Linked DNA regions of Homo sapiens: regions 2 and 3 are each linked to region 1. The links are contacts of gene promoters, found by promoter capture Hi-C in human tissues and cell types (Jung and others, 2019). All regions are on one chromosome and are shown on one strand. The core of a region is centred on a gene start or on the middle of the fragment in contact, and the rest is flanking DNA. Distances in the headings are between cores, read along the strand shown. Region 1 holds the start of FSTL5 (follistatin like 5). Region 2 overlaps FSTL5 (follistatin like 5). Region 3 has its middle 36 kb from the start of FSTL5.

Region 1 (3,075 bases), core at 246-2,745:
ACATAAATGAGAGACCACAATTCCATTTATCAGGCAAACCATCACACCTGTCAAAGTCATGAATAGTAATAAGAAATACAAAGAGCACAGGATAACTTCTATCATTTAATAATTGCTCACTATGAGAAGTATTGTTCAGTCGTTTTCCACACTGAATTCTTTCTCTGTACACACTCAGAACACACTGCCAATTGATAAAAGGAACATAGCTTCAAAAGAAAATTCTTCTAAGTAAAGAAAAGCTCTCTGTTAAGCATGCAAGAGGTTAAACATTGCTGAAATAGTGAGACATTTTCTCAGCCCACACTTCCCAGTTCCATTCAATTACCAACAGCACAAGCGACTATAATACAAGCGAATACTGTATTATTAAATCAGAACTTCCCATTTACATCCACCTCTAACCTGAGGGGGTTGCAAGGGGATGACATTTGCTAGTCAACAGCAGAACAAACAGCCCCCAACTTGGAAATACACATGACCTTGGGGTGTGGAATGCTCAGAGACTGAGTTTCACAAGTTTTATTTGGATCTACTGCATAACAACACATCTAAATGGACCCAGCATGATGTAAATGTTTCTATACCTACCTCCTCCCTTCCAAAAAATGTTAAGAGAGCTCTGCACTTTGAAGTCTATGCTTTAGATATAGGAATAATATTGATGATTAACCAGAGACTAGTCCATTCAAATAATTATTTGATTATATTTGTTCTAAACAACTTGTTGGTTGATTTATTTAACATCATTTGCTAATATATTTGGGGGGTTTCCTGGAATGGTTCCTATCCTTTGAACCCTGCTGAAAGTATTGCTCTAAAATATTTATATTTATAAAGCAAGATATAACATAATGACATCAACTTCACAAAAAGCAAAGCTCTCAACTTCCCCTCTAGAATTTAGTGCATAATCACTAACAGATTGTCTTGTAATAATAATAATAATAATAATAATAATAATAGTAATTATTAAAATATTTTTGTAATCATTGCCAAAAGTCCAGTTTCAAATTATAAAAATAAGCATAACTTGTTTTTAAATTTTTGTATGGCAGTCTGTATTTCTCCCCCACTTGTAATCATTTATAACAATATTATTTTTCTTACCTTATTTTAACAGTCACAAAAGTCCCCCAGAAAGATTCCTAAACGCTGTGGAAATATAAATCACAATAAAAAAAAAAAACTCTCAAAAGATCGTCTTAGCTGGGGAAAAAAAAATAGTTTGGTCTAAAACTATAGAAATCTCCAAAGTCACGCCTGAATGAGCGCCCAGGTGGCAAACAGAGGACTCTCTCCCACGTCCGATACCACACTCCTTTGTCAAGTTGATATGGGTCCTGTTGGTGAAGCGGGTCCCACAGGGCACAGAGGGTGCAAGAGGGCGTTGCCTTCAGGTGCTGGAGCAACTGGTCCGCTCGCGTCTCAGGTTCAGCACCGACAGCACAGTGGACAGTACCAGCTCCTTTCACCTCCAGTTTGTCTCAGTCACTGAACCAGGCTGATTCTCGCTCCTCCTCCCTAGGCAGGAGCTGCTGCCACTCAACCCGGGGGTGCCCCGCCCCCACCATCTGACGTAACTATTTTGCATATCAACTCGCCGAGAGGTGAGGGGCCGCCCCCTTGACTGGGCTTCTGCTAGAGTCAGCTGCGGCAATCGGGGCAACAAAATTCAGGCTTAACGTCAGCGTGGGCATCTTTGGACTTCAGGATGTATTCTCAACCAGTCCAGTAGAAACTAAACGCTTTGACGGTGCTGGAGCCTTTGCCTTCGCGGGGACTGCCGTTTCTGCGCACTCTAAGATCGCTGCGGGCACAGCTCTGGAAGGAAGACGGGGCGGAGAGAGGGGGCAGTGGAGCACGGAGAGGACCGAGTGGGAGGCGGGTGGGGAGGAGACGGAGAAATAGAATGAATCTATTCAACCATTCTTGAAAACATCTCCAATCCTTTTCATCTTCCTGCCCAAACTTTGCTGCCTCTCCCTGCCATTTGGTTATTTGAACGGATCCGTATTTGGTGTTCCTACTCCCTTCCCTCGGTTCACGGAGCCTCTGGAGGGAGTCGCTGCTGCAGAAACTTGCCTGGAAGAAAAAAAAAAAAATTCTGAGCACTGAGAGAAAACGTGAAAGCTTGCAGCGCTAACCATCATTTCTAAACAGAATCTTAAGGAAAAAAAATACGAGTGCTCCATAGTATATATTATACTTCATATGCGTTCCTATAAAACCTACAGAACCTTCCTTATTCATTCTCATGATTTAAACAAATCCTCAAACTGTATAGACTTGGAGATTCCAGAGGGAAAAAAATTAAATAATAAAAAGTGAAAGTTATCAGCTTCAACTTCCACTGCCAAAATTATGAAGGTTATGCAATATTTATTATGTCTACTATATCAATATTTCTATGAAAGATGGGCTATGCTGGAAGCTTTACATAGCCTTTAGCAATTCTCTCAGTATTTGTGATATTTCTTGTCCCAGTGAAGCTCTAGCCTCCTTGAAGGCAAGAGAAAGGGGGCCTGTCATGCCAAATTCCACAGACTGCTTAAACTTGTAAACAAACACTTTCAGTGAACTGAAGCAATCAATCATCCAGAAGGGTGATTATTCACATTCCATGCACATGTCCCACCTACAGCTATCATGACTTACTTGGACAGAGAAGTGGGTATCTAAAACTAAGCTTAAATTTTCTTAAGTTGGATAAAGCATGTTTAATAAAAAAGGTTGTTTATTCAAATAATGTCATAGCATTTCACACATTGCTTTCCATCAGAATGCATACACACTGATATGTGTCATCATATGCCAGGAGTCTGATATCATCTAGCACTGGATCCACTCACAAGCATTTTTCAGGGACTCTAATCAAAGGAATACACTTACTTATTTCCCCATCAGGAAAAATAATGCATTTTATTTTCTCTAATATTAAGAAGTTATTTGAGGAAGTCTATTTACTTTGTGGACCCATACCCCCAAACTGCTTCTTTCTAGTTACTTAAAAAAGAAGAAATAACAGAGGAAAAAACTATGGTGTTTTTGCTTGAGGGAAGGAACATTTTTTTA
Region 2 (3,075 bases), core at 421-2,920, 41 kb before region 1:
CCATTTATACACAAATTTTCTTCTACCTCTGCTATCCTTGAGAAAGCAAAACCAACCTCTCTTCTTCTTCCTCCTCAGCCTACTCAACATAAAGATGATGCAGATGAAGACCTTTATAATGACTGACTTCCACTTAATGAATAGTAAATATATTTTTCTTCCTTATGGTTTTCTTAATAACATTTCTTTTCTCCAGTTTACTTTATTGTAAGAATATAACATATATTAACATAACATACAAAGTACCTGCTAATTGACTGTTTATGTTATAGGCAAGGCTTCTTCTGGTCAGTAGTAGGCTATTAATAGTTAAGTTTGGGGGGAGTCAAAAGTTATATTTGAATTTTATACTGTGCACGGGGTTGGCACCCTATACCCTGTGTCATTCAAGGGCTAACTTTATTTCTCAAAACTGTACCAATTCAGAAAAAGTACTTTTAATAGCAGCAACATACTATAGTAGAAAGAACAATAGGTTAAAAGTCAAAAGACATCATTCTACTTGTGGCTGGGCTCATAAACTGATTTTCTTAACACTTGCATTAACATTCTCAACCCACTGTTCCCCGCTTCTACCACTAACTAATCCACTTAAATTGTTTGCTTGGAGGTCACTACTGTACTTGATCTTTCCTCCCTTTAGTTTCAAACACAAACAATATTCTCATGATTTCACTTCATTTCCTAGTCATGGTCTTGTAGTTTCTTTTTCCACCTTCCTTTTCTCACCTGCTCTCTTAAAACTACAAGTTTGTTATGTTAAATTTCTGAAAACAGAAATAATCAGACTGACAATGTTGAATTTTTGTTTTTTTAAATTTATTTTCAATACTATCTTCAATAAAAATTTAAGGAACAACATCTGTATGTCATAGTAATATAAGCTGAAAGTTAAGAAAACATATTCTATTACTTCTCAAAGTAGGTAGCAAATGGATGTTATCATGCAAATTAAAACTTTTTCTCCTAAACACTCTTTATGTACTTTATTGCACATTTCATATGTGTGTGGCATAAAAGGCCTATTGCCTTACTTTGTACGTAAGCTACACCTAAGTTTGCGTAGTGTAATGTGGAAAAGTGATGTTTTAAAAGTTTGAAAATCATAATACATTATATGACCTTGAAGATCTTTCCCTGGTTCAAGAGAAGGGAAAATTATTATAGGCTCTGTCTTCTGAATTCATTGCCTTCTACCTTGATGAGCACTTAAAATGTAAATTAAGGAAGAATACAGCTCTTAGGACTGACTTTGCTTAAAATCCCAGAGGTACTATGTTACAGATTTTATTTGCTATTAAAAAAAATCATTGCAATTTTGTCAATGTCAGACAGATTTTAAATTCAACCTATTCCATACCAAGGTCTCCAGCAGCCTGTGTTCTTTAAATCTGGACCTACATTTATTGTACAAGAAAAAAAAATCTGTTACAGTTTAACAATGAAGTGCTGCACAGGGAACAACTTAATTTCCTCTGTATTTAAAACTGAAATGCCACGGGGAAAACTTGCCCATTCATAGGGGTCAGCTAAGTTTCAGAGGAATTCTAGTTCATTCTCAGAATACTGTGGAGAGTCTGAGAATAGTCCACAGTTAGTAGAAGTAATTAAGACCCAAGATATTTTCCAGAGAGATCCCAGAAAGAGAGATGTGGCCATCCTGGTGTGCAGGGGAAAGAGGGAAGATAGGTTAATGCTTAGTTGCACTATAAAGATTCTCACAAAGTTTCTCAGAATCAAAGTCTCCATGTTTTCTTAGAAAATATGGAAAGTGGAGAGTAAACTATCCTTGTAGATGAACGTTTGCTCACTCAACTGAAGACTTGAGGACATTCCTAGTGGTTTAACCAAAACAGACAAGAAGAGCTGAAACCCTGCAAGAAAACTCTAAAGCTACTGGAACTATTTCATCTGGTTATGTGGTCAATCATAGCCAGTGGTCAGAACCCAAGTCATGAGCAAATAATACTGCAGAAATTGAGTTTGTTTTCAGCAAGAGACATATAACTTACATTTTATTTTGGACCAGTGTCTCAAGTTTGAAAAAGAGGCAACAGGTAAAAGATTTTTTTTTAACTAAATTGTATCAGATTTTGAAAGAAAAAAAAAAACTGAAGAAAGGTGAAAAGAAAGCAGCAACATAGTGTTTTATAATATAACAGTAAAAAGTGCTTATTGGATATATAATGTGTTCCAGGCACAGTTACACCATGAGCTTTCAAATTCTTGATAATCTGTCAACAAAAAATACACTAATCTAGGTAGAGTATTCAGATGAGTTCAGAAAATATATCCATAACAACACTTAAAATTATATGTCTTATGTCTTTTGAAGTAAATGCTTTTAACAGATAATAAAGACAATACATTGGTACTAGTATGATATCTGAGAAGCTTACACAAGTGAACTTTTGAAATGACGCCTCTAATTAAATTTAGAGATAGCTATTACATTGAATTTAAGAAACACAGAATTAGAATTTATATGCAACTCCATCAAGATGCTGTTTCTAGACTGAGGGTAGGTGTAAAAAATTTAGTAGTATCATCCAACCCATTTATGGCCTGCTTCAGAACCCTTGTAATTCTGTAAAATCCACACAGTAAGCCTGACCACCAGTAATTTTTAGCAACTTTCTTTCTCCATTCTCTCCTCTTCTCTAGGTAATGAATATAAAATTCCCAGTATAACTGGTTGGGCCCAGATTGATAGTGAAGTGTACCTCCCTTCCTCTGTTCTTAAAGGACTAGAACCGGAAAGCATAATGGCTTCTTCTGGGCAGAGGATGAGATAGATAAAAGTCTCTTTAATGAGATAATCTATTGAAAAATGAGCCCTTGAACAGCCAGAGAGCAGCCAAAATAATACTGAACGCTGGCTGGAGACTCTATCAAAACATACTCAAAAGCTTCTTTTAGGTCACTCCTTTTTTTGTTTGTTTTTTTTCTGAGACAGAGTCTCGCTCTGTCGCCCAGGCTGGAGTGCAGTGGTGCGATCTCAGCTCACTGCAACCTCGGCCCTCCGGGTTCACGCCATTCTCCTGCCTCAGCCTCCAGAGTAGCTGGGACTACAGG
Region 3 (3,075 bases), core at 263-2,762, 36 kb after region 1:
ACAGGTGTGAGCCACTGTGCCCAGCCAGGGTGAGTATTTTGTAAAGCTACATCTTATTTTTTGTGATTTATTTTTTCCATTTGCAATATTTTGCTATTTAATTCTCTTAGTCCTCTGAGCATGGGAACTTTATCTCATTCATATTTTATCCCTAGCACCTAAGCCAGTGCTTGTCTTCTAACTACTTAACCATCTAAAAACATGATGGATAATAATGTTTCTCTGGGTTTTGTTTTGTTTTTGTTTTTGTTTCTGGATATTTTTAAACCTTTTTGGAACCTTTCAATATATCATGATTGGTTTCTCATTATTTATTTTTCCAAAAATAATTATGAATGATGGCAAAATATTTTAAAGCTTTTGACACATATTACTTATTTGCTTTCCAAAAAAGAGATGACGGTGTACACTCTGACCAGTATTATTTAAGAGTATCATCACTGGTTTCTCTGCATTCTTATCAACATAACGACTTAAAATTTTCTTCCACTTGTGTAGGTAAAAACTGGTGTTTTTGTGCTACAATTTTCATTCCTTTGTTTACTAATAAGACTGAACATTATTTATGCTTACGGCTACTTAAAGTTTTTACTTTTCATGTGTTCTTTGTTTGTATCTTGGCATAAATGTATAATTTGGGATATAGTTTTTTGATAGGTTGTTAATAAATATCATGGAAATACATGAAAAAGAATAAATTTAGAAAATTGACCTAACAGATCAATGAAAAAATAGTTGAAATATAAAAAGGACTGAAATAGGTGAAAGTATTTTCCAACCTTGAAGTGTATGATGTGTTCAAGTATTCCAAATGAATTCACTGTGAAATATATGAGCGTTATTGGCCCTGGATAAAATGAAAAAGGTAGTTTGGGAAATGATTTGTTTTTGTCTTTGTTTTTGTTTTTTGAGACAGAGTCTTGCTCTGTCACCCAGTTTGGAGTGCAATGGCGTGATCTGGGCAGTATTACTGCCTCCCAGGTTCAAGTGATTCTCCTGCCTCAGTCTCCAGAGTAGCTGGGACTACAGGCATGCACCAACATGCCTGGCTAGTTTTTGTATATTTCATAGAGACGGGGTCTCACCATATTGGCCAGGCTGGTCTTGAACTCCTGACCTCAGGTGATCTGCCTGGCTTGGCCTCCCAAACTGATGGGATTACAGGCATGAGCCTGTAACCGTGCCAGGCCTGGGAACTGATTTTGAATGGCCATACATTGGATGCTATATATTAATTCACTGAAAAAGTGTAACCATTTAGTTTGCTTCCCCTTTGAATAGAAGACTGTTAAAAGAGGCTTTGTTATTCTGAAGCTTATATAATTTTTTATGTTCTAAGTTTGAAATTAAATTCAAGTTAAATGAAATTGTGCTTGACATTTCAAGCCTATCAGAACACAATGAGAACAAATATGAAATGTAGATTTATCCTCTAAGTGTAAATTTAGCTGTGATTTGGTCAAATTGCCAGAGAGGCAATATTATCCAGTGACAAGAGTACAGTTTTATGCCATTTTAAGATCTTTTTTAAATCCTTCTTTTACCACTTCCTATTTGTGTGATCTTAAGAAAGTTATATAAGGTTTGTGGCTGGAGAATAACCATCTAACACGGGTTTTCCTGTATTCTCACACCAACACCACAACAATCACCTACACAGAAGACTTCTATGACTAAATCCACGGGGGTTTCTCCCCACCATCAAGCAGTGCATGCCAGCTGGTTGTCCTCCAATTCAATGCTGGCACTATCGACCTGGAGATAGCATCAGATCTCACAGGTTGGGGGCTCAGTCCCCAAGACTGACTCCCACCCCACCTACGACACCAGTCTCAAATCAAGGCTTCTGGAACTTCTGACCAACTGACTTCAGGTTGAGGTTCCTACAACCCCCTCTTTGGGTTCGAATAATTTGCTGGAGCGGCTCACAGAGCCCAGGGAAACACTTACTTATGTTTACTGGCTTATTGTAAAGGATACTGCGAAGATACAGATGAAGAGATGTGTAGGGCAAAATATGGTGGAAAGGGTAGGGAGCTTCCTTGCCCTCCCTGGGTTCTCCCCACTCCAGGAGCAATCTGGAAGCTCTTCAAACCCAGTTTGTTTGGGTTTTTCTTTTATTCACTGCAATTTCTGCCTCCTGGGTTCAAGGGGTTCTCCTGCCTCAGGCTCCCGAATAGCTAGGGTTACAGACATGTGCCACCACCCCTAGCTAATTTTTGTAATTTTAGTAGAGATGGGATTTTACCATGTTGGCCAGGCTGATCTCAAACTCCTGACCTCAGGTGAGCTGCCCATCTTGGCCTTCCAAAGTGCTAGGATTACAGGCATGATCCACTGCGCCCGGCCTCGTTTGGGTTTTTATGGAAGCTTCATGACATTAGCATTCCTTACCCCCACCCCCTGGAGTATAAGGTGGGACTCTCTCTGGGAAGGGTCTTAAGACTCACAATCATAAAGGTGGAGAAAGATTAAAGTCCTGCCTTGGGTCAGGTGGAAGGATGGCAGGAGAGAGATTCTGTTTCCTGAAGCCTGCTCCTGAGGCCTAACACACCCAACATTATAACAAAATACTGTAAAGGGAGATGGGAGTTATGAACTAGGAACCCTGGATGAAAACCAACACATATCATAACACCACAGTCTGTAACCCAGACCGTGTCAAAGGTGCCTTCCAACTATTATATTCCATTCCACAGTAAATAAGTCAACCAATGTTTAACCTACACTGAATACATACTTGATAGATTTCGGAAAACTGATTTTTGTTTTTACTTTTGATTATAAATAGAGCTTTGCTTTATCTCCCAAATGGAGAAATAAACTTGTTTCCAAACCATATTCCAAACACCATGCAAAGTACATTGTTCAGCTAAAATGTATTAGCGCTGTTTGAGTATTTGTATTTTAATGTTGAATTGTTTAAACTTCCCTTGTTGGAATGTGTGATTTTCCTATTTCTCTAAACGTCAACAAAATTATGTATGCATCCTGGAAATGCTGCAGAGACCGAATTAAATGGCATAGCATCTGCATTTTAACAAGACAATCATATCAAATTAGGCAAATTATATT

The links. Contacts are between HindIII fragments. The study calls those that stand out against the background at their distance.
Region 2: a contact is called between a fragment that was not itself captured here and the fragment with the promoter of FSTL5 in region 1, in 1 of the 25 tissues and cell types used here (hippocampus).
Region 3: a fragment that was not itself captured here is called in contact with the fragment with the promoter of FSTL5 in region 1 in 3 of the 25 tissues and cell types used here (aorta, hippocampus and pancreas).

What each region holds. Positions count from the first base shown.
Region 1 is chr4:162,162,505-162,165,579 of GRCh38, forward strand. It overlaps FSTL5 (follistatin like 5), which reads right to left and starts at 1,496. Exons shown (of 16, transcript NM_020116.5): 1 at 1,111-1,496. RefSeq lists an enhancer at 1,650-1,759. The HindIII fragment of the contact is 23,396 bases long and covers 1-3,075 here.
Region 2 is chr4:162,121,769-162,124,843 of GRCh38, forward strand. All of the region lies in intron 1 of FSTL5 (follistatin like 5), which reads right to left. Among named protein-coding and RNA genes, the nearest start is that of FSTL5, 41 kb to the right of the region's middle. The HindIII fragment of the contact is 3,838 bases long and covers 1-3,075 here.
Region 3 is chr4:162,198,570-162,201,644 of GRCh38, forward strand. No RefSeq gene overlaps it. Among named protein-coding and RNA genes, the nearest start is that of FSTL5, 36 kb to the left of the region's middle. The HindIII fragment of the contact is 4,012 bases long and covers 1-3,075 here.